Regions from separate parts of the Homo sapiens genome. Here region 2 is linked to region 1. Evidence: promoter capture Hi-C in 16 types of primary human blood cells and fetal thymus (Javierre and others, 2016). All regions are on one chromosome and are shown on one strand. Each heading gives the region's core, a stretch centred on a gene start or on the middle of the fragment in contact. The rest is flanking DNA. Distances are from core to core; before and after follow the strand shown.

Region 1 (4,001 bases), core at 523-3,022:
AGGTGTGCAGCAGGCTAGACCCAGACTCAGAGGCGGCAGAACTCCCGGGAGTCCGAGGTACAGAGTTGGGGTGTGGGGGGCACCGTGACAGGCTGAGAGGTAGGGTCAGTGAGCTGGCACAGGGGCAGGAGCGGAGGCGGCACCAGGGCTGGAAGAGCAGGCTCCCTTGTTCCGAGGCAGTTTGGCATTCAGCTGCCTCCCAGTGCCAAGTCGTAATGAGACTTGTAGAGGCACAGACCGATGCTTTTCCAATGCTCCCCGTGTACCCTGAGGCATTGACACGAGGTCTATCACCATGGCATCAAGGTGCTTAGACAACCTGCTACTCCCAGGAGCCAGGAATAGCGTGAAGCAGCGGGTCTGCATCTCACTGTGACATATGTGAGCATGTATCACTGTGATGGATCAACAGTCAATAACACTGGGGTCCCCGCCTGCCCCCTGCGCGGTAGGAAACTTCTCCTGTTCATATGTCTTCCTCCCCTGGTGGGCGGCCCCTGCTCTTGCCAGCCTCCCAGTGCTCGTGGCATTGGTGGAAACGTCTTTAGGCTTTCACTGTTCATGTTTGGAGCAGCCCAGGGAAAAGCATGTGTGCAAAGAACTGAAATGGATCTCATGATGCCGTCACCGGGGGCTGCAGCTGGACACACCTGAGCAGGCAGTAGCAGGGTGGGAGAAGGCTCGGACATCATACCACTGGCAGTTCAAATGCCCGCCCCACAGACCTGCCCTGATCCTAGGCATGTTGTTTTGCCTCCTGGGGCCGAGGTCTTCTCTTTTGTACAACTGGGATCATCACATTTATCTGGTGAGTGAAGGGACACCTGCAGAGAAGGGAGGTAAGCGCTCAGCATGCGCTGAAACTCAGCCACCTTCCCGCCTGCGTCTTCCATGTACCAGGTGCCTCCAGCTCCACCAGCCATCACCACACCCCAGCCCCTTTCCTCTGCCACTCCAGACACGCAGGCAGATGTGTGGGTGCCAAGGGTGAGGGGCTCCCAGTCTGCTGGGGAAGGGGGTCCCGGCAGCAAACAATTCCTGTCCCCGGCTGATGCTGCTAGAAGTGAGAGCAGGGGCTGTGACCTGCAGCCAATGGGGAAGCAGTTCGAGGGTCTCACAGTTGGGAGGCCGAGTGAGCTAAGCTTTAGGGCAGCCACAGGGAGGAGCTGACGTTAGAGATGGACCAGAGAGGAGGCGTCTCCTGGGCCTCTGCAGGGGACCCACAGAGGTTCTCGCTGGGTGAATGATGGGCAGCCTGCCTTTCACCTGCCCTGGGTGTTTGGCCCTCTCTAGGGCTGGGAACATGAGGCTCCTGCCCTTCACCCCAGCCTCCCTACCACCCCTCACCAAAAAACCTACCTTTGGTAAACACATTATTAAGGGATTCTCAGAATATTTTAGAGAAGTTTGTGTGAACATGCTTGTGGTCGTTTTAAAAGTGTTTCAGAAGTGAGAGGCTAAACCAAGGCCCGAAGTCACTCATGGAAATCCCATGATCCCTCTGCACAGTTACCAGTGTCTCCTGGACGGGGCCCCTGCTGGAAAGGGGCCGAGACAGGGTGAAGCCCACCAGGGGTTGGAGTGGGGAGGCTTGGGTCCCGTCTCCAGCTCTTCTTCTGGTTGTGTGGCCTGGACCAGTCTCAGTGCCAGGTTCCTCATCTGGCGGCCACCCTGCTGGGCTGTTCCAGCTTTGCTTCTGAGCGGAAGGTCAGGGGCTGCCAGGGAGGAGCTTCGTGGGGAAAGCAAAGGGGAAGCTGTCAGCGCCGGCCGTCCCCTCCTGTGAACTAAAGAGTCGCCGCAGACAAGCAGGCCCCCAGATGGAGAACCAGCCTGTGAGGTGGCGGGCCCTGCCAGGCCTCCCACGCCCTCCTGGGCTCCCCGCAGCCCCCTGGCTCCTCCTTGGCGTGCTGCTGCTGCCCGGGACCCTGCGACTGGCAGGTAGTGTCTGTCTTCCTCCTTCTCTCTACTCTCTCGCTCCAGAACATCAGAGCGGCTTTCATCCCGCCCGGCGCAGCTAATTCCCAGGGACCTGTCTCTGGGGATTTGCTGGTTGTCGTTTGAACGCTGCAGACTTCACAGGGGAAGCCTTCTGGGACCGAGAAGATGTTTAGCTAATGCCTTGCCAAGGTGGCTTTTGAAGGGGAGGGGGACAGCGCTCTCTCCCTCGCTGCTGTGACAGCTTTGCCCCAGCAGTCTGGCCTCCTGGCCCTTAAACAAGGAGGGTGGGCGCTGTGTGGCTGGGGCCAGGGGCGGGGCAGGGGGGAGGGACAGCTCCCCATCCGAGGAACCTCACGTGGCTGCTGCGGGGGACACTGCGTTGAACCTGGCAAGTGGTGGGGCTACCCTCTGGGTTGTTGCTGGCATTGGCCAGGGAGAGCGGGGAGAGGGGGGAGGGGGGGATACCAGGGCCAGCCACAGGGCTCTGCGCCCAGAGGCACAAAACTGTCAGTCACCAGAAAGGGTCTCACCTCCCAGTTCCTGAAACACAACCAGAGGCCAAGTGTTTTAGGATGCAAGTGTGTCTTTCCACGCCAGCGGCGCTCCTTTCCTGGTTCCAGGCTTTCTTGGAAGCTGGGTGGCCGGGATCCGAGCCAAGCTGTGGGGTAGGTAGCCTCAGGGCCAGTTCATCAGGCCAGGGACGGCCCAGGAGGGTCCCATTCCAGGGCTGCCAGCACGAGGGCTCAGTGAATTCTGCCAGATTCTCTCTGCCCCTCCTTGGCCGGGCAGCAGCCAACCCTCCCTCTGGCCAAAGGGGTGGCCTCCACTGTGGAGACAGGGTGCCTTCCTTTCTATTCTCTTAGTTTATGGGGCTTTCAAGAGCTGCCCCCACCCTGTCCTGCTGCACCCCCTCTCATGACCACAAATTAGGCTTTATGGAGCCCTTAGCAGGGCACGTACTGGCCACCCTCACAGCACCCCTTGGGGCTCCTATTGTCCTCACCTGCACCATTTTAAGGACAGGGAAAAGGAGGCCCAGGGAAGCCAGTTCGTTTGCTCAAGACCTAGCCGGTAAGTAGAGGCCAGCCTCAGCCCCAGGCCAGCCTCAGCCCCAAGCTGGGCCCCTCGGCCAGTAGGCTCAGAGGATCCTCTTACTTGTAAAGAATGTTCTTCACCGGAAACTTACCCTGGGGAGGCAAAGGCTGACCTGTGTGTACCTCCCCAGGCTGCAGCCCAGAGCCCTAGGACACCATCTCCTTTAATCCTGTGCACGCCTCGCCCCACACCCCAGACAGTTGGTGCAAACACGGCCAGACCCCGGAAATGCAGCCTGTTAGTGTCAATGTGTCTCAACTACAGTCATTTTTAATTTAATTTCCCCCCAATTCCCATCCTTTCCCTTTGTGTGGTTCCTCCTCCCCAAAAGACACCCAGCACACCCTGGTAACCGAGCAGTAAGAGGTTTTATGGGGTGCTACTGGGGAAAAGCTCTTTTGTAACAGTCTCAACTATAACAAAACATTCCCAGTGCCACCCCCTCCCACCCGGTATTGCAACAAACATTACATAAAAGAGAAACTGTTCTTTCACAAGAGGTGAAAACACCCTTACGGTGTCCTAGAGTCCCTTGGAGCAGCAGACAAACCCCCACCCATGATTTTTTTTTTTTTTTTTTTTTTTGAGAGTTTCACTCTTGTCACTCAGGCTGAAGTGCAATGGCGCCATCTTGGTTCACGGCAACCTCTGCCTCCTGGGTTCAAGTGATTCTCCTGCCTCAGCCTCACGAGTAGCTGGCACTACAGGTGCCCACCACCATGCCCAGCTAATTTTTGTATTTTTAGTAGAGACAGAGTTTTGCCATGTTGGCCAGGCTGGTCTTGAACTCCTGACCGCAGGTGATCTGCCCGCCTCAGCCTCCCAAAGTGCTGGGATTACAGGCGTGAGCCACTGTGCCCGTCCTGTTTTTATTTTTTTGAGACAGGGTCTCGCTCCGTCCACCAGGCTGGAGTGCAGTGGTGCAATCTCAGCTCACTACAACCTCTGCCTCCCTCACTCAAATGATC
Region 2 (4,004 bases), core at 304-2,803, 690 kb after region 1:
GAATGACTATTGGTCTATTATATGCAGAAAGCTGTCACAGGCTAGTGGGCATTAGCTTGACTATAATGGCCCTATTAGTTGCTCTAAAACACAAGAAAATCCCCACTCCATCAGGTGTAAAGAGCTTAGTTTCCAAAGTTAATCCTGAAAGACATAATCAACATTCACACTGACAGTGTCTTTCCTGATATCTTAAGTCTACAGGCTATTAAAAGCCAGCAGCTACAACACATGGCACATTGGTCAGATTCTAAGATTCTAGTGAATTCAGACTTAAATAATTTTGTGAGCATGTTTACCCTATCTGCTTATATGATATAAACAGAGAATGTGTGTAATAGACTGGGGTAAAAACACCCTGGAATTTACTGTTCTAGGCTTAGGTACTTTATAGTTTTGGACCTTAGAGAAAAATTATTTAACCCTCGTGGCTTTAGTTTCCCCATCTGTAAAAATGACAATAGTAATCCTTAAGCTTCATAGTTCTGCTATTAGGGAAAAAGCATCTCATTGTAGCCATGTGTGCATGAGAAAAAGTCATGAAATAGCATACAAAAGTAAGGGAATATACTAATTATCTTTCTAAAAACACACTGCAGCATGATCTTCGGAAGCAGCAGGCTGCAGTACACTGACCAGGGGCCTCCTGCTCAGCAAGGTCTGGGAAAACTCCGCACATCGGTTTAGCATGGCTTCTAGCAAAGCCTGCAGTTCCCCATACTGCACAGGTGGAGTGCTCTGATGGTCCTTCCTGCATCCAGAGAGACAAAAGCAGGTTCACGGTAAGGCAACGGTATTCCCAAGATAACCCCAGGTTCTCAGGCAATGAGAGGCAGTGCAGTTGGATCAGAACATGGAATCTAATCTGATAAAAATCCTTACTCCAGGCCAGGAATGGTGGCTCACGCCTGTTAATTCCAGCACTTTGGGAGACTGAGATGAGTAGATGTCTTGAGTCCAGGAGATGGAGACCAGCCTGGGCAACATGGTGAAACCCAGTCTCCACAAAAATTAGCCAAGTGTGGTGGCATACACCTGTGATTTCAGTTACTCAAGAGGCAGAGGTGGGAGGATCACCTGAGCCCAAGAAGGTAGAAGCTGCAGTGAGCCGTGATCATACTACTGCAATCCAGCCTGGGTGACAGAACAAGACTTTGTCTCAAAAAAATCCTTACTTCAATGCTTATCTAACTGCACAACTTCTTGTACATTCCTTGCCCTCTCTAACCATCAATTTCCTCATCTATTAAATGAGGCTAATAGTACTCTCCTCATAGACTTATTATGGGGATCAAATTCGATAATGTATGCCAAACACTTAGCATGATGCTTAATACGTAATAAGTCCTTATAAATGTCAGCTGTGTCTATTATTACTATTAAGGATACAAGGTTTTCTCGCAGAGGAGAGCCTGCTGGTAAAAGAAGCACTACCTAGAATTGAACGTGCATCAAGAGAGTGACAGCTACTGTTTTCCAATAAGTAATAAGCTCTTCTGGGGAAGAGGGATCAAACTTTGTTAACTCAACGAGGAAAACCAGGATCAACAGGTAAATGTTACTAAGATCCAGAGATGGAGTCTCACTCTGTCACCCAGGCTGGAGTGCAGTGGTGTGATCTTGGCTCCCTGCAACCTCCATCTCCCAGATCCAAGCAATTCTCCTGCCTCAGCCACCTGAGTAACTGGGACTACAGGCGCACACCACTACACCCAGCTAAGTTTTGTACTTTTAGTAGAGATGAGATTTCACCATGTTGGCCAGGCTGGTTTCAAACTCCTGACCTCAAGTTATCCACCCACCACAGCTTCCCAAAGTGTGGGATTACAGGCATGAGCCACTGCACCCAGCCTGAGAACTTTCTTTTCTCTTTTTTTTTTTTTTTTTTGAGATGGAGTCTCGCTCTGTCACCAGGCTGGGGTACAGTGGCGCAATCTAAGCTCACTGCAACCTCTGCCTCCCGGGTTTAAGTGATTCTCCTGCCTCAGCCTCCCAAGTAGCTGGGACTACAGGCGCACGCCACCACACCCAGTTAATTTTTGTATTTTTAGTAGAGACGGGGTTTCTTGACCTCATGATCTGCCGCCTCAGCCTCTCAAAGTGCTGGAATTACAAGCGTGAGCCACCACGCCCAGCATCAGCCTGAGAATTTTCTGAGTCAAAGTCTATAGAAGTATTGGGGACCATCTCTAGGGAGAAGTGATTCCCCATTCTATGAGACTATACGCAGAGACTGGAAAAGTACTTTTGGAGATTCAATCATTATGAGTGTGGGGTAAATGTAGACAGGTAACACCTAAGGCCCATTTGAACCCTCAGATTCTATAGACTCAGAAGAGCCAACAGTCATTGACTAGTTTAATTGTGAGTTTCCAAGAGGAAAGGGACCAGTTCCATCTTTTCACTTTACCTAAACAGAGACAGATGCATTGTAAGTTGATGATTAATAGAACAGATGTCAAATGAATGAATGACTATTTCACAGGGTATTGGTTTCTTAGGGCTGCTATAATAAATTACCACAAACTGTGTGGCTTAAAACAACAGAAGTTTATCCTCTCACAGTTCTGGAGGCTAGAAATCTGAAATTGAGGTGTCGTCAGGGCCATGTCCCCTCTAAAGCAAGCTTGTCCCACCCACAGCCCACAGGCCGCATGCAGCCCAGGACAACTTTGAATGCAGCCTGACACAAATTTGTAAACTTTCTTAAAACATTATGATATGAAACCCTGTCTCTACTAAAAATACAAAATTTAGCTGGGCATGGTGGCGCGTGCCTGTAATCCCAGCTACTCGGCAGGCTGAGGCAGGAGAATCGCTTGAACCAGGGAGTTGGAGGTTGCAGCGAGCCAAGATCACATCACAGCACTCCAGCCTGGTGACAGAGCAAGACCCTCATCCCTGAGCCTTTGTTGAGCACTGAGAGCCATCTGTTGGGCCTTCTAACAGGTTCTCAGTCAACTGCATATGGTTACGGCTTGATTTCCCCTTTCCTTCTTCATCTCTGGAAGCTCCAAGTTTGACGATCCTACACGATCATCAAGCCCTAGTTCCACCACCTTTAAATTCTTGGGTTTGTTTTTGTTTTTGTTTTTGTTTTTGAGACAGGGTCTCGCTCTGCTGCCCAGGCTGGAGTGCAGTGGCACAAACACAACTCACAGCAGCCTCAATCTCCTGGGCTCAAGCAATCTTCCTGCCTCAGCCTCTTGAGTAGCCGGGACTACAGGCATACACCAAGCTTGGATAATTTTTGTAGAGATAGCGTTTCCTCAGGTTATCCAGGCTAGTCTCAAATTCCTGAGCTGAAGCGATCCTCCAGCCTCAGCCTCCCAAAGTGCTGGGATTACAGGTGTGAGCCACTATACCCGGCCTCTTTAAATTCTTTTTAGCAGCTCTCACTCTTCATTCTTCCTTCTAGTTGTGCTTTCCAAAGACACTCTGAACCACCCCACCTCAGAGGGACCACGTCAGTAAACATTCTGGGAAGTTAAAGTCAAAAGTAAAATCATCTTTGGCCGGGCGCGGTGGATCACGCCTATAATCCCAGCACTTTGGGAGGCTGAGGCAGGCAGATCACAAGGTCAGGAATTCGATACCAGCCTGGCCAATATGGTGAAAACGCATCTCTACTAAAAATACAAGAAGTATCCAGGCGTGGTGGCGGGCACCTGTAGTCCCAGCTACTCGCGAGGCTAAGGCAGGAGAATCGTTTGAACCTGGGAGGTGGAGGTTGTGGTGAACCGAGATCGAGCCACTGAACTCCAGCCTGAGCAACAGAGCGAGACTCCACCCCCCCCACCAAAAAAAAAGTAAAATAATCCAAGGCTTAATAACCTGCCCCCTATCCATCTCTCTCCACAATTCTGACCCAACAGCTTTCCTGCTTCTCCAGGCAACACCCGCTTCATGTAACCTGCTGGTCAACTGGCTACTGCACCCTGAGCAATCTCTATACTCTCGAACCCAAATGTTTTGCTAATCCAGGTCCTTCCACAAATCTAACT

What was found. Contacts are between HindIII fragments. The CHiCAGO score rates a contact against its expected background, and 5 or more counts as called.
Region 2: a fragment that was not itself captured here is called in contact with the fragment with the promoter of NFAM1 in region 1 in 6 of 17 cell types (activated CD4 T cells, total CD4 T cells, non-activated CD4 T cells and 3 more); the score reaches 8.1 in activated CD4 T cells.

What each region holds. Positions count from the first base shown.
Region 1 is chr22:42,430,174-42,434,174 of GRCh38, reverse strand. NFAM1 (NFAT activating protein with ITAM motif 1) reads left to right here and starts at 1,772. Exons shown (of 6, transcript NM_145912.8): 1 at 1,772-1,938. The coding sequence starts at 1,818. The HindIII fragment of the contact is 8,354 bases long and covers 1,145-4,001 here.
Region 2 is chr22:41,739,827-41,743,830 of GRCh38, reverse strand. It overlaps MEI1 (meiotic double-stranded break formation protein 1), which reads right to left. Exons shown (of 31, transcript NM_152513.4): 12 at 637-751. Among named protein-coding and RNA genes, the nearest start is that of MEI1, 42 kb to the right of the region's middle. The HindIII fragment of the contact is 2,151 bases long and covers 478-2,628 here.